3 separate regions of the Homo sapiens genome follow, and regions 2 and 3 are each linked to region 1. Evidence: promoter capture Hi-C in 16 types of primary human blood cells and fetal thymus (Javierre and others, 2016). All regions are on one chromosome and are shown on one strand. Each heading gives the region's core, a stretch centred on a gene start or on the middle of the fragment in contact. The rest is flanking DNA. Distances are from core to core; before and after follow the strand shown. Region 1 holds the start of CNTFR (ciliary neurotrophic factor receptor). Region 2 overlaps FAM219A (family with sequence similarity 219 member A). Region 3 overlaps FAM219A (family with sequence similarity 219 member A).

Region 1 (4,084 bases), core at 1,093-3,592:
TAGGTAGGGCATCAGAGGCGGCAGGAGCGGAAACCACTACTAGTCTGTTGACCCAGCTCTGGGGGGAGGAAAATTGGTTGTGAGCCGGGTGGCGGCTGTGTGGAGAGGTGGCAGCCCCCGGTGTTCAGTAGGTGGCCGAGGCCTCAGCGCGGAGCAGGAGCAGCAGCCAGAAGGGAACGCACGTCCCGCACCGTCCGCCAGGTGTCGCTTCGGCCCCGGGGAAGCGCTCGAGGCCGCTGGGTCCCGCGCCGGGAGGAGCTGCTGACCGACTGACGCCTGGACAGAGGTCCGACGTGCGCCTCTTCCCTTCCTTTATCGTCTGACATCCACACGTCCACTTCCAGGACCCCGGACTCCCAGTGCGGATCTTGTCCCCGCAGCCGTGGACTGCTGCTCTGCCGACAGCAGCCTCTGCGTCCCCGGGGGCCGAGGGGGACGTTGGACCGGGACAGAATTCCCGACTGCTCCCAACCTGGCAGAAAGAGGCTGAGCCAGGGACACCAGGGCATCTGGAGGTCAAGTCCGTTCCCCAAACCACTCGCCAATTTTCACCCCGTCCGCCCCTCCCCGGCCGGATTAGAGCGCCGAGGCCGGTCAGCCCCCTGGGGAGGAGCGGCCCCCGGTGTACCGAACCTTGCCAGGGCCTAGAGCTTCGCCGCAGGGGCAGGGGCAAGTCCTGCTCCCCTCAAGATCCCGTCGCAACGCCCCCTTCCTTCCCCGCGTCCACAGTCTAATCCCGGTCTGCGGCACGGGAAGCAGGAGGCCGGCGGCCCAGAGAGCCCGGGGAGAGGACACCTTGTGTGGGCGGCTGTGCGCTGACCCTCAGCGGGGCGCAGCTAGTTTGCTGTGTGTCCTGAAGTCCTAGCTGGCCGTCTCTGAGCTCCAGCCCATGCCGACCCCTGCCAGTTGTAGGAAGGGGATTCTGTGGCCACGGAAGTGAAAGTGAAAAGCCCAGGCCGTGGCGGGAAGAAGGATTTTCCTCTGCAGTGGGAGTCCCTGAGGCATTTGTTGGGAAAGGGCCCGGGCGCTCTAGGCAGCCTACTGGGGAAGGATGTGAGGAAACATGGAGACATTTCCCTCCCTTCTCCTCGCCCTCAGCCCTAGAGCAGCTCCCCGGAGGGGCAGGGCCCAGGATTATGGGTCAAGGGTCAGGTGACAAATCCAAGGGGTGGAGACGGGGGTGGCTTTCTCGGTCTCTGCCTCTGCCATTGCCACTCCATTGCGCTTTCACGTGGCCTCAGAAGTTGGTCAGGTTGTCCAACCTTACTCTCCTATGTTGCAGCCAGACCGGAGGCCCAGGGACGAGTGCAGTGAACACCCCGGCCCCTCAGAGGCCCAGGCTGCGAAGGGAGTGAGCCTCCTATCGAGGGGTGCGCCTGTGCCCGGCATTGAGAGTGCACCCTCCCTACCCCTTCATTCCAGTGGAGGCTTCTCCCCCGGCTGTGTGTCCTCGGGGCGCGAGGAACATGCGAGTAGTGGTGTTGGTGTCATCGGAGACACTGGAGGCATGGGCCTGGGCTCCCGGCAGGGTCCATCCCCGGTCAAGGAAGCCCCTTTCCCCCGCGCGAGGGGGTGACCGGGAGGGGAGTCGTTGCGGGGGGCAGTAGCAATAGGGGAGAGGCGGAGCCGGCTGGCTTCTTCTGCCCAAAGTGGGGGTTGGGGGTTCTGGCTCGCGTTCCTCTCACGGCGACGCCGGAGGGAGGACCCCGAGAGTTGGCCCGGGGTGTGCCAGGGAGTCGGTGCGAGGCCGTCAGGGCCTGAACGTGCGGGAGTGTGCGCAGGAGAGACCTGGCTAAGGCCGAGAGGGAGAGTGAGTGTGAAGGAGCGATCCCGGGGGTGAGTGCGCGCCCAGCCGCCCTAGGGGAGCGGGCCGAGTGGGTGTGTGTGTGTGTGTGTGTGCGCGCGCGCGTTTGCGAGACCCGCGGCCGGGGCTGCGCGTGAAGCACGGGGACCACAGCCGTCTTGAGGGCGCGCCCGAGAAAGGGTGAACGCGAGGGGGCCACGCGTGCCAGTGCGGACGAGTGTGCCAGCGGGGGGGCAGAGCGCGTGCCAGTGCTGGGCGAGTGGGAGTGGGGGCTCACAGGCCCGCGCAGGGCGAGCGGACCGCGTGTGCCAGGAGCGAGAGCGTGCCAAGGCGGGGGCGCGCGGGGCCCGTGGCGGGGAGGGGTCGTGGCGCGCGGCCGCGGAGGCGCGGGGAGACAAGGCAAGAGGGGGAGGGGAGCGAGGGCGCGCGCGGCCGAGCGGGCGCCCGCGGTCACATGGGCGAGAGAAGGAGGGAGGGAGCGCGCGAGGGAGGGAGGAGGATGGGGGGGTTAAAGCCGCCGAGCGCTGAAGAGCCGGTGCAGAGCGGGCGGCGGCGGCGGCGGCAGCGGAGGCGGCGGCTCCAGCCGGCGCGGCGCGAGGCTCGGCGGTGGGATCCGGCGGGCGGTGCTAGCTCCGCGCTCCCTGCCTCGCTCGCTGCCGGGGGCGGTCGGAAGGCGCGGCGCGAAGCCCGGGTGGCCCGAGGGCGCGGTGAGTACCCTGCGGCGGAGTGCGCGCGGCCGGACCCTCAGAGCCCGGGCTGACCAGCAGACCGGCGGCCCTCATGCGTGCGGGAAGAGTGAGGGGACACCCGTGGGCCCACGGACGGGGGCGACAGGAAAGTTCACGAGAAACTTTGCCTGCAAACTCGGGGGCGGGGGCGCTGGAGGAGCGGCCCCCCACGTCCGGGCGCTCCGGGGGTTGGGCGTGGTGGTGGTGGTGGGGCCGACTGTGGACTAGAGGGAGGTGGCTCCGGCGGTTTGTCCTAGTGTCCCTGTTCTCCCCACCCCTCAGCTGCACGCGCGGGGTCTGGAAAAATTCCTGGGTTTGGGGAGGTTCGTAGTGGCCTTTGCGCGCCCAAAGGTGGCTTCTTTCTCGGGCAGAAATCTGGACTTCAAAGCGCCCGGGGATGCGAACCGACGGTTGCGCGTCTGCCAGTGCATGTGTGTCCGTGTGAATCCGCGCGCCCGCGCGCGCGTGTGTGTGTGCATGTGTGTGTCGGTCGGCGTCCCCATGGTTTTCTCTTCAGTCCGCCTGGATGTATCTCCATGTAGTGGGTCTCCTCCAGTGTGTCTCTTTGTAAGTCTTCCTGGCTTGTGCGAGTCTGCCTATGGTGTATCCCCAAGTGTCTCTTTGTGAGTCTGCTCGTGTGTGTCTCCTCCAGTGCGGCTCAGTGTGAGCCAGTCTGGGTGTCCCTGTGTTGCTCCGAGTAGTGTATCTCCGCGTGCGTGGGGGCTGGGCCGTGGGGAGGTCACCAGACGGACAGCTCTCCCTCTCGGCTCCTCTCCTCTCCCGAGCCTCTCCTCCAGCGTTAGCTCGCTCGCTTGCTCGCTCCCTTGTCCCCCTCCCCCCTCCAGTAGCTTCAGGCGGGCAGGACTATTTCACGCCTTGTTGAAAATTCAGGATTTTCTTTCTTTCCGTCTAGTCTCTCTTTTTGAGAAGCGTCTGTGTGTGTCTGTGTGCCTGGCAGCTTGTCTGCAACATTGGGTGTGTGTCTGCATGCCGCTGTAGGAGTGTGTCTCTAACACTAGTTGTTCTGCCTGTAATACTTGGTGAATTTGTGTCTGTGTCACTGGGAGTGTTTGTGTGGCTGTGGTCACTGAGGTGGTGCGAGTGTGAAATGCTGGGTGTGTCTGTGCATCTGTAATTGCTGTGTGTCCGAGGGGCCTGAAACACCAGGTGTATTTTTGTGTATCTAACTCTGGGTGTGATGGTGTGTCATTACACGTGTGGGAATGGGGCTTGAACCATTGCAGATTCCCAGGGATGTAGGGCTAGCAATGACTTGGGGGCTAGAAGGGCCTAGGTGTCTCAAACTATGCCTCTCTGTCTCCACTGTCACAACCCACACAAATCCTCTCAGCTGGTGCCAGGGGCTCCTGGTCAGCATTGGTGAGATAGAGCTAAGGTTCACACTGTCAGGGCTGATACTCCAACTGAGACCCTGAGCCTACACAAAGACTAGGAGTTTAAAGTTCATGCACAGGACTTCTGGGGGCTCTGGAATCCATACTCAGATGCACACTGGGACACTTCAGCTCCTTCTAGGGTCTAGGGGCTTACA
Region 2 (4,084 bases), core at 494-2,993, 170 kb after region 1:
TGTGAGCCACCGCGCCCAGCCCATATTATTTTTATATGTCCAGAACCCAGCACAGTGCCTAGAATATAGATGCCCTTAAAATGTAGGACCAGAACTGAATTTGGTGGCTAAGGCCCCTTTCATCTCCTTTTCTTGCACTGCCCTCTTCTTTTGTCTCCTGGGCTCACCATTCTCAGTTTCCAACGCATTTTCTTTCTTGTTGCTTCCTGCCAGTCTCTCTCTCCATCTTGAGCTATCGACTGCTTCAGTGGCTCCAATATTTCCTTCCTGTGGAGAACTCAATTGAGCAGGAAGCTTGTGATCAGAAAGCATCCATGCTATTTTCTAAAGAGGGGCTACAAGTTTGTGTTGAGCTCCAGAGACATGATTGAACTAGGTACCAGCCTTCCAAGTGACTGCTTTGCAAGACAACAGTCCCACAGAGGTGTAAGTTCTGGTACGTTGTTAATCTCATGACTTTATCTAAGTCTCTGAGAAGGGGCTGGGGTAAGAGAGATGAGGAAATTAGATTCAAATTGCCTACCAGGTGTGACTTTGGACATATTACTTTATGCAACCTAGTTCTTCAATTTTAAAATGAAAATGATATTTGCCTTACTTGGTTTTGGGGAGGATTCAATGAAATAATATAGATAAAGCACTTAGCACCATGGCCGTACCTCTGGCAGGTATTTAAGCAACATTAACTAAATGACTGGATGAGTTTTGGAAGAACTACACCTGGGCTAAATTGTTCCGAACAACTCCCTGCCTGGATCCAGCCAGAGTTCTTAGTAGAGCTGCCTCCCCAACGTGAGCTTTGAGAAGTCCCTCCTCTTCTCTCCTCTCTTCCCAGACTATTGTTCCCTCTTGCCACTAGGAATGTAACCAGGTTAAGGTCAGGGTGGAGGGCTCTTTGAGAGGCTGTCTGGGGATGGTGTGGGCGTAGAGAGGCTGGCCTAGAGCCACACTATTCCAAGTGTGGTCGCTGTATTAACAGCATTGGTACCACCTGGGAGCTAATATGAAATGCTGACAATTCAGGTTCCAGACCTACTGAATCAGAATCTGCATTTAAATAATATGCCCAGATGATTTCTATGCACATTAATATATGAAGAAACACTGTCCTAGGGGCACAGATGGGTTCAGCAGGGGTGGAGGGTTGAGACAGTGCAGGTGTGTCAGCTGTCTAGAAGAGGTAGAGGTTGTATGGGGGTGGGGGAGGCTGTGGCAGGGGGGTGTACTCAGAGAAGAGGAAGTGTCCTCAGAGATGTGGGTTGTAGAGCTGTAGGGGGCTCTTTGGGAAATGTTGGTCATTTGCTGTTTCAGCGGCCTTTCCTATTGATGCCTGGAGTACGAGGTGGTACCCCTTCCTATTGATGCCTTGAGTATGAGTTAGCCGGTAAGTGTCACTGCACCAGCCAGGGAGTGACAGGTGGGCAGGCAAAGGCTCTCTACTGCCCTGAGCCTGCAGAGACGTTCCTGCAAGTATCCTAGGACCATCTAGCTTAGCAGTTGAGTATTGTTTTCCATGGAGATGCATAACCAGCAACTGGCTAGCCTCACCCCTAAAAACACACCCTGAGTTGGTGTTACTCTACAATCTCCCCTCCTTACCTCTGTACCCCCAGCTGGCACACACACACCCCTATAACACACACACATGAACTTTCTTCTCTTGGGAGACTCAGATGGGAGTTCATAAGTAGGGTTAACCCTCCCCTTCCCCTCTCTGACCTGCTTGACCCCAGGCTGGCCCCCAGGCCTCTATGGGCCCCTCAGCCCTGACCTCCCTGCTGCACGGAACAGGCCTTGTGAGAGTGACTGCAGGCCCTAGGCTTGGCTGGATGCAGCAAAATTTGTTTCAGCAGAGCCATTCTCTCTCTCTCTCTCTCTCTCTCTCTCTCTCTCTCACACACACACACACACATACACACACACACACACACGAGTTTCACTCTGTCACCCAGGCTGGAGTGCAGTGGTGTGATCACAGCTCACTGCAGCCTCAACTTCTCAGGCTCAAGTGATCCTCCTGCCTCAGGTTCCCAAGTAGCTGGGTCCACAAGCACATGCTACCACACCCGGCTAAGTTTTTTTTTCTTTTTTGTAGAGATGGGGTCTCACTTTGTTGCCCAGACTCGTCTTGAACTCCTGGGCTCAAGCAATCCTCCCACCTCAGCCTCCTGAAGTGCTGAGATTACAGGCTCATGAGCCACCACGCCTGGTCTTTCTCTTTCTTAAGCACTCTTAGGACAGGACTCTCAGTCCCTGATTGCCTTCTTAATAAAAACCCTTTCCAGCCACCCACCTAGAGCCTCTTGACCCTTCCTTTGGGTTATCTGTTTATCTCAATGGTAAAGGAAAAGGTCCTGCTGCAAATGACCCCCCAAAATGAGGTGGGGAGTAAGTGAGTGCCCTGTGGCAGGGTAGGAACTACATCAGCAGCAACGAAAAGTAGAGTCCTAGCCCCCAGGGCAGAGCTTCACCAGTAGTTGCTTTAAACCCTCTGCCAAAGTACCCAGTGACCAATAGCCAGGTCTCCACTTTAACCTGGCTCCTGCCCAGGCCCAATCTTGTATGTCAGAGAAGATAATATCGCTACCATTATCGCTCTCCTCTGTGCTCCTACCACCCTCCATGCATTCCTGCCTCTGCTGTTCCTCTCTCTTCCTTAAATAGGCTGATCTGTGTGCCTGTCATCTCTGCACTTTTAAATTCTTCTTGGCAAGAACCAGGGCTTGGTGTTTTTCCCTCCCCAGTGTACATTGTGCCCTCCCCCTTGTTGGGGTTCAGTGATTATCAAAGTTCTGAACAAGTGGCAAGTTCACCAATGTTTAATTATTGGGATGACAAAAAGGAAAGACTAGGAGACTGCTCTGGCTAGAGAGCTGAGCTTTAGAGCTGCAAATTATCTTTGTGGGCAAAGAGTAGTGCCTGCCAGGCATAATGGGGGTTAGAGACTTAGAACAAGCTAAAAAGGAGAGGAAGGGCAGCGACAGGAAATGCCACAGAGAGGAAAAGCTATTTGATACTAGCCCTCCAAGTCCATTGTCCATTGCAGACAAGTTGGTCCTTATTCTTCCAAGGCCAGAGGGAAGAAATCCCATAGACTCTGCCAATTACTTTGCTTTCCTGCAAATCAAGGAGCCCCAAAGATTTATGAACCAGTGCAGGCCAGGCTCAGTTCCTTGAGTAATTGAAGCTTACTAAAAAGCCTTAAGTGAGATTTGGGGCCAAGATTCAGACAAGAATCCACACGTCAATCTGGCCCAGACAAATGTCAGTGTCTGCTGGCATTTCTCCTGCTTCTGCTTCCTACCAGGTGTGGGGCTCTCAAGGAGTCTCCAACCACATGTCTTGTACTGATTCCTGGGCAGTATTCTCCTCAGTGTCTATGCCTCCTCCCTTATCTTGAAGAACTGGAATCCACATTCTAGAAGGAAACTGAAAGATCCTCTGGACTGTGCTCCCTAAAGCGCTGTTAACCTTGAACAACCTTGCCATCTTCCTGTCCTCTGGGCCCTGTCTAAGGGGCACCTCAAGTAGAAAGCCCCCAGAAACCCAACCCCAAATCCCCAGCCCCGTCCAACTCCCCTGGTCTTAGAATAATTTTCCCTCTCCTATGAAAGGCCTCATCCCCAAAAGTCTGTGTTGTCTGAATCTGAATATGAAAAGGGAAGGGACTGCCTCCTCCCCACTGCCCACCACACACCTTCTTATTTTGCTGCCTAGGTCCTGCTTCTCAATTTTTTTAAAAAAAAATTGTATTAGAATATGCATAACATAAAAGTTACCATTTTAACCATCATGGGGCTTTGTTTGTTTGTTTGTTTGTTTGTTTGTTTGAGACAGAGTCTTGCTCTATCACCCAAGTTGGAGTGCAGTGGTGCAATCTTGGCTCACTGCAACCTCTGCCTCCCAGGTTCAATAGATTCTCCTACCTCAGCCTCCTGAGTAGTTGGGGTAACAGGTGTGCAACACTACACCTGGCTAATTTTTTGTGTGTGTTTTCAGTAGAGACAGGGTTTCGCTGTGTTGTCCAGGCTGGTCTCAAACTCCTGGCCTCAAGTGATCCACCCACCTCGGCCTCCCAAAGTGC
Region 3 (4,084 bases), core at 421-2,920, 140 kb after region 1:
AGCACAGATTATTGTGGGACTGCCACTACCCATAATATTGATATTGTACTTCTATTATTGTCAGTTGAGCTTCCATGATCATATTTAATAACCATACCTATTGTTATATTGAACTCAGAACATATCTGGAACAGAGCAGCCCTTTCCCTTAGCAGTGTAAAATCAAGGCAAGAACCTGGAATCACATCTTGAGCTAGGCTTACTGCCAATACAGGTTAAGAGTCCACTGAGGATAGTGAGATGATGGTTCCACATTTGTTAGAAACTACACTACATGTGTGTCATGTGACTCTTATTCTCAGAAAGGTAGCTGGCTGAATTCAGCAAGACAGAATTTCAATAGGAATCTAGGGAGGCTGTGTGATTGGAGAAGGTAGGGACCTTTAAAGCGAGCTAGTGCTTGAGTGGACAGAAAGCTTAATATAAGTCCACTATATAACAAAGCTAATGTGCTGTTGGACTACATTAATAGAAGCATGGAATTCAGTTCCTAGGAGGTAATCATCCTACTCTGCCCTATTCTGTAGTGGTCATCACCATCTGAAGTCCTCCATTCTGTACTGATATCATCATTCAAGAGATTGGGTGACTAGAATAATGAAAGGAGTCAAAAGCATGTCATGTGAGAATAGTTAGAAGAACTGAGCTGTTTGGCCTATGAATAAGCAGTCTCAGAGAAAGCATTTTGAGGTTTTCAAATACCTAAAGGACTGGGATTAGGAAAGAAAAGGAGGATAGTCTTCATGTTATCTGTAGCTTCACAGGGAGAACCAGAGCCATGGTGGGAATGTGAATGTGTTCTTACCTCACATTCTCTATGGTATCAGTTCTTAAACTGGGCCAGAGGCCAGGGCACCAGGAAGACACACTGCTCTGTGCAAATGTCCTAGTCCTTCCAAAGTAGGTGCTAGGAATAATATTCTAGCAGTAAACATGGCTCTGTTATGTGTGTGTACTATAAACGTGTCCAAGAATCCACTGTGGAACTTAGCACAAGCAGCACTTTTCTAGTTTTCTGAGAATAGGTGTTTGCTAATGTTTTGTATATATCAAGGCCTGTCACAAAAGCACCATCTTCTTCATGCATCCCTTTCTATCCTTCAGTGAGATGTGAGCTCTCCATTTACCTGTCCTGTGGCCCTAATACCTTGTCATTGTGTAAAGTTTATGGGTACAGTGTCTTATCCCTATCTTTAATTCCCCCCGCCCCGCATTTTTTTTTTTTTTTTGAGACAGAGTCTCGCTCTGTTGCCCAGGCTGGAGTGCAGTGGCACAATCTTGGCTCACTGCAGCCTCTGCCTCCCAGGTTCAAGCAATTCTTCTGCCTCAGCCTTCCGAGTAGCTGAGAGTACAGGTGCACACCACCACACCCAGCTAATTTTTGTATTTTTAGTAGAGATGGTTTCACCATGTTGGCTAGGCTGGTCTTAAACTCCTGACTTCAAGTGATCTTCTTGCCTCGGACTCCCAAAGTGCTGGGATTACAGGCATGAGCCACTGCACCCAGCCTATCTTTAATTCCTTTTTAAGGTAGGTGAAAAGATGTTTCCAAAGCACCTGAACCATCTCATTAAGCAGATTAGGAAAATCATTTTGCCCACTTTATAGATCTGCAAGCAGACTCCCAGAAAGGTAAACAGGCTTAGCCACTACCCAGCTGGAGGTTGGCGTGGCCTAGATTAGACCCTCCTTCGCAACTTGGAACCCAATTAAGTTCTTCTACATCAGGCTTGAACTTCTCCACTGGCTTTTGAGGCATCTACACTAGGCTTTTACCCCTCAAAGCTGGCCATACTTGCTACCATTCAAGCCAACTTTCTTTCTAGTAAGTCCAGCCATGTCCTTCACCTTCTTTCACCTATTGGCACCTTGAGGCCTCCTCTCCTCTTAACAATTCTCTTCTGCCCATTTCACTCATACACATTCTTCAGAGATCAATATAAACTCCCATTCTTCAGAGAGCTTTCCCTGAATATTCTAGTGAGCTCTTAACCAATCCCTAAGCCTCTATAACCTCTAGCACATAATTTTATACAAATGATATTCTGGTTTAGGGTGTCCACTTTAATGTGCTGTGAGTCTTGTCACCCCAACTCCCCTTTGATCTCCTTGACAAGATAGCTTCTACCTCTAGAACTTACAGACTGGTGAAGAAGATACTTGCTCTTATGAAACAGAACTACAGAAGAATACAGCTGGCTCCTTTAAAGATGAGTAAGAGTGGAAAGGAGAGGAGGTTGGGAGGTTATTCTAAGGAGGGGAACAGCAAAGACCTAGAGGGGGATGAGTAGGTGAGAATTAGTAGAGTGGAAGCCACATGTTGGGGAATTAAGGGAGATTCAGGGGAATACAGGGATGGGACATTCATTCATTATTCAAATAACATCTTTTGAGCATCTGCTATATGCAAGACACTGAGCCAAACATAGGAAGTAAAATGATGAATAAAGCAAACATGGTACCTACCTTCATAAGCTGGCAATCCAGTAGGAGAGACAGATACTAAACAAAGTGCACAAACACAATTACCAACTATGACAAGTGATAGAAAAGGCAAGAAATGCAGTAGGAAAAGAGAGAATAATAAATTATTCTCTTGTGGATGTCAGGTAAGGCTGCTATGAGAAAGTGATGTTTGAACTCAGACCACAGGATGAGAAGGATTTTGTTCTTACAAGGAGTGACGTGCTCCTGGCTCCCCAGTGGGCAGGGGTCCCTAGCTGAGTTAGCAATCTGAGTTCCTTACAAATTGGCCTTTTCCCATCTTCTCCCTTTGCAGCATTAGGTACATTTTCAGAAGTAAGGGACGTAGAATAATGTAAGAAGGCCAATCCAGCCCCTCTCCCATTGGTAGCAGAGCTGATAACTGTGCCGTCAGCTTTGTTGTGGGGGCTGGAGAAGCTATTAATGGAGTTGTAAGCTTTAATATTTAATGAGGAAAAAACTTAGTTTTGCTGATGAAGAGCTCCTACCTGAGTCTTCCAACATTATATGACCTGTACACATCCTCCTGGAAATGGAGAAAGTCTCTGGGGATCTTGGAGGAAAGGAAGAGTGCCAGCCTGGATGTCCTGTTCTTGGTGTATCAGGCATAGGTTTCTCCTTACCACAAAACCCAAATGTATAGGTCATTCTCTCTGGGGACAGACTTGCCTCTGGTGGGAAAGCCAGTAGCCACATTGGCAGGCAAATTGCAGCAGCTGGTGAAAGGGGCCTCCACTGGTTCTCCTATGAATGCCAAAGCTGTTCCCTGAGGATTTTAGCTTCCAGAAAGTCCTCTCTGCTCTCAGCTGACATGCTGCATCCAGCTCTGGCCTAGAGGACTCAGTGAAAGGCCAAGTGGGGATAATGATATGGGGAAGTGGTAGTAGCTAGTGGTTTAGGGAAGGGGAGGGAGAATTATGTGGAGTCAGGGAGGGAGACCAAGTTGAGGGTTGGTATTTAATGTAGCAGACATTGGTACCAAAGGGAACCAGTCAGAACCAAGATTTGACCATCTGTTAGCCTCCCTATCAACTTCCTGATGGAATCTCATATTTCACATCCTTCATTTGCCATGGGCTCTGATACAGCAGAGAGACAGTCACAGGAAGCTCCCACAGGAGGAATTGGTTTGAGTATGCTTGAGGGGGTGGGGAAATTAGGATAAGCCAGTGGGGGGCACGGGCCTGAGGGCAGGAGCTGTGCACAGCAGTGGTAAGTAGGCTGGGTATATCCTAGCTACTATCACTTTTGTTATGACCTTTGGCCAGCCTCCTAACCGCTTTCAGGCATTTGTAAAATAAATAAGATCATGTATGTGAAAATGAGCTGCAAATTACTATATTATTTCTGGTCTAAGGGTTGATGATAATGAAAGGGTTGCTGATTTTCTTTTTCTGTCTGTAATTCCCAAGGGAACTTTTGTGGGAGAGAGTGAGGAGATGGGTTATTCTTCTCATCACCAAATGAGAAGAGTCTTTGGCCTCCTTGACAGGGCTGTGGTGAGGCCAGGCTGGAGAAGGACCTGCTCTGTGCTTTCACTGATCTCTGGAAGAGATTCCCATTGAGTGGGGCTGGGCTGGGGGACGTGTAGAGGGCGGCT

The links. Contacts are between HindIII fragments. The CHiCAGO score rates a contact against its expected background, and 5 or more counts as called.
Region 2: a contact is called between a fragment that was not itself captured here and the fragment with the promoter of CNTFR in region 1, in 4 of 17 cell types (erythroblasts, endothelial precursors, M1 macrophages and 1 more). The highest score is 6.5, in erythroblasts.
Region 3: a contact is called between a fragment that was not itself captured here and the fragment with the promoter of CNTFR in region 1, in 3 of 17 cell types (erythroblasts, M2 macrophages and total CD8 T cells). The highest score is 5.8, in erythroblasts.

The regions. Positions count from the first base shown.
Region 1 is chr9:34,587,982-34,592,065 of GRCh38, reverse strand. CNTFR (ciliary neurotrophic factor receptor) reads left to right here and starts at 2,342. Exons shown (of 10, transcript NM_147164.3): 1 at 2,342-2,511. The HindIII fragment of the contact is 17,004 bases long and covers 1-4,084 here.
Region 2 is chr9:34,418,821-34,422,904 of GRCh38, reverse strand. The region is part of intron 1 of FAM219A (family with sequence similarity 219 member A); the gene reads left to right. LOC124902145 (a long non-coding RNA gene) reads right to left here. Exons shown (of 3, transcript XR_007061465.1): 2 at 168-267. Among named protein-coding and RNA genes, the nearest start is that of SPMIP6, 23 kb to the right of the region's middle. The HindIII fragment of the contact is 2,893 bases long and covers 297-3,189 here.
Region 3 is chr9:34,443,318-34,447,401 of GRCh38, reverse strand. The region is part of intron 1 of FAM219A (family with sequence similarity 219 member A); the gene reads left to right. Among named protein-coding and RNA genes, the nearest start is that of FAM219A, 13 kb to the left of the region's middle. The HindIII fragment of the contact is 2,504 bases long and covers 419-2,922 here.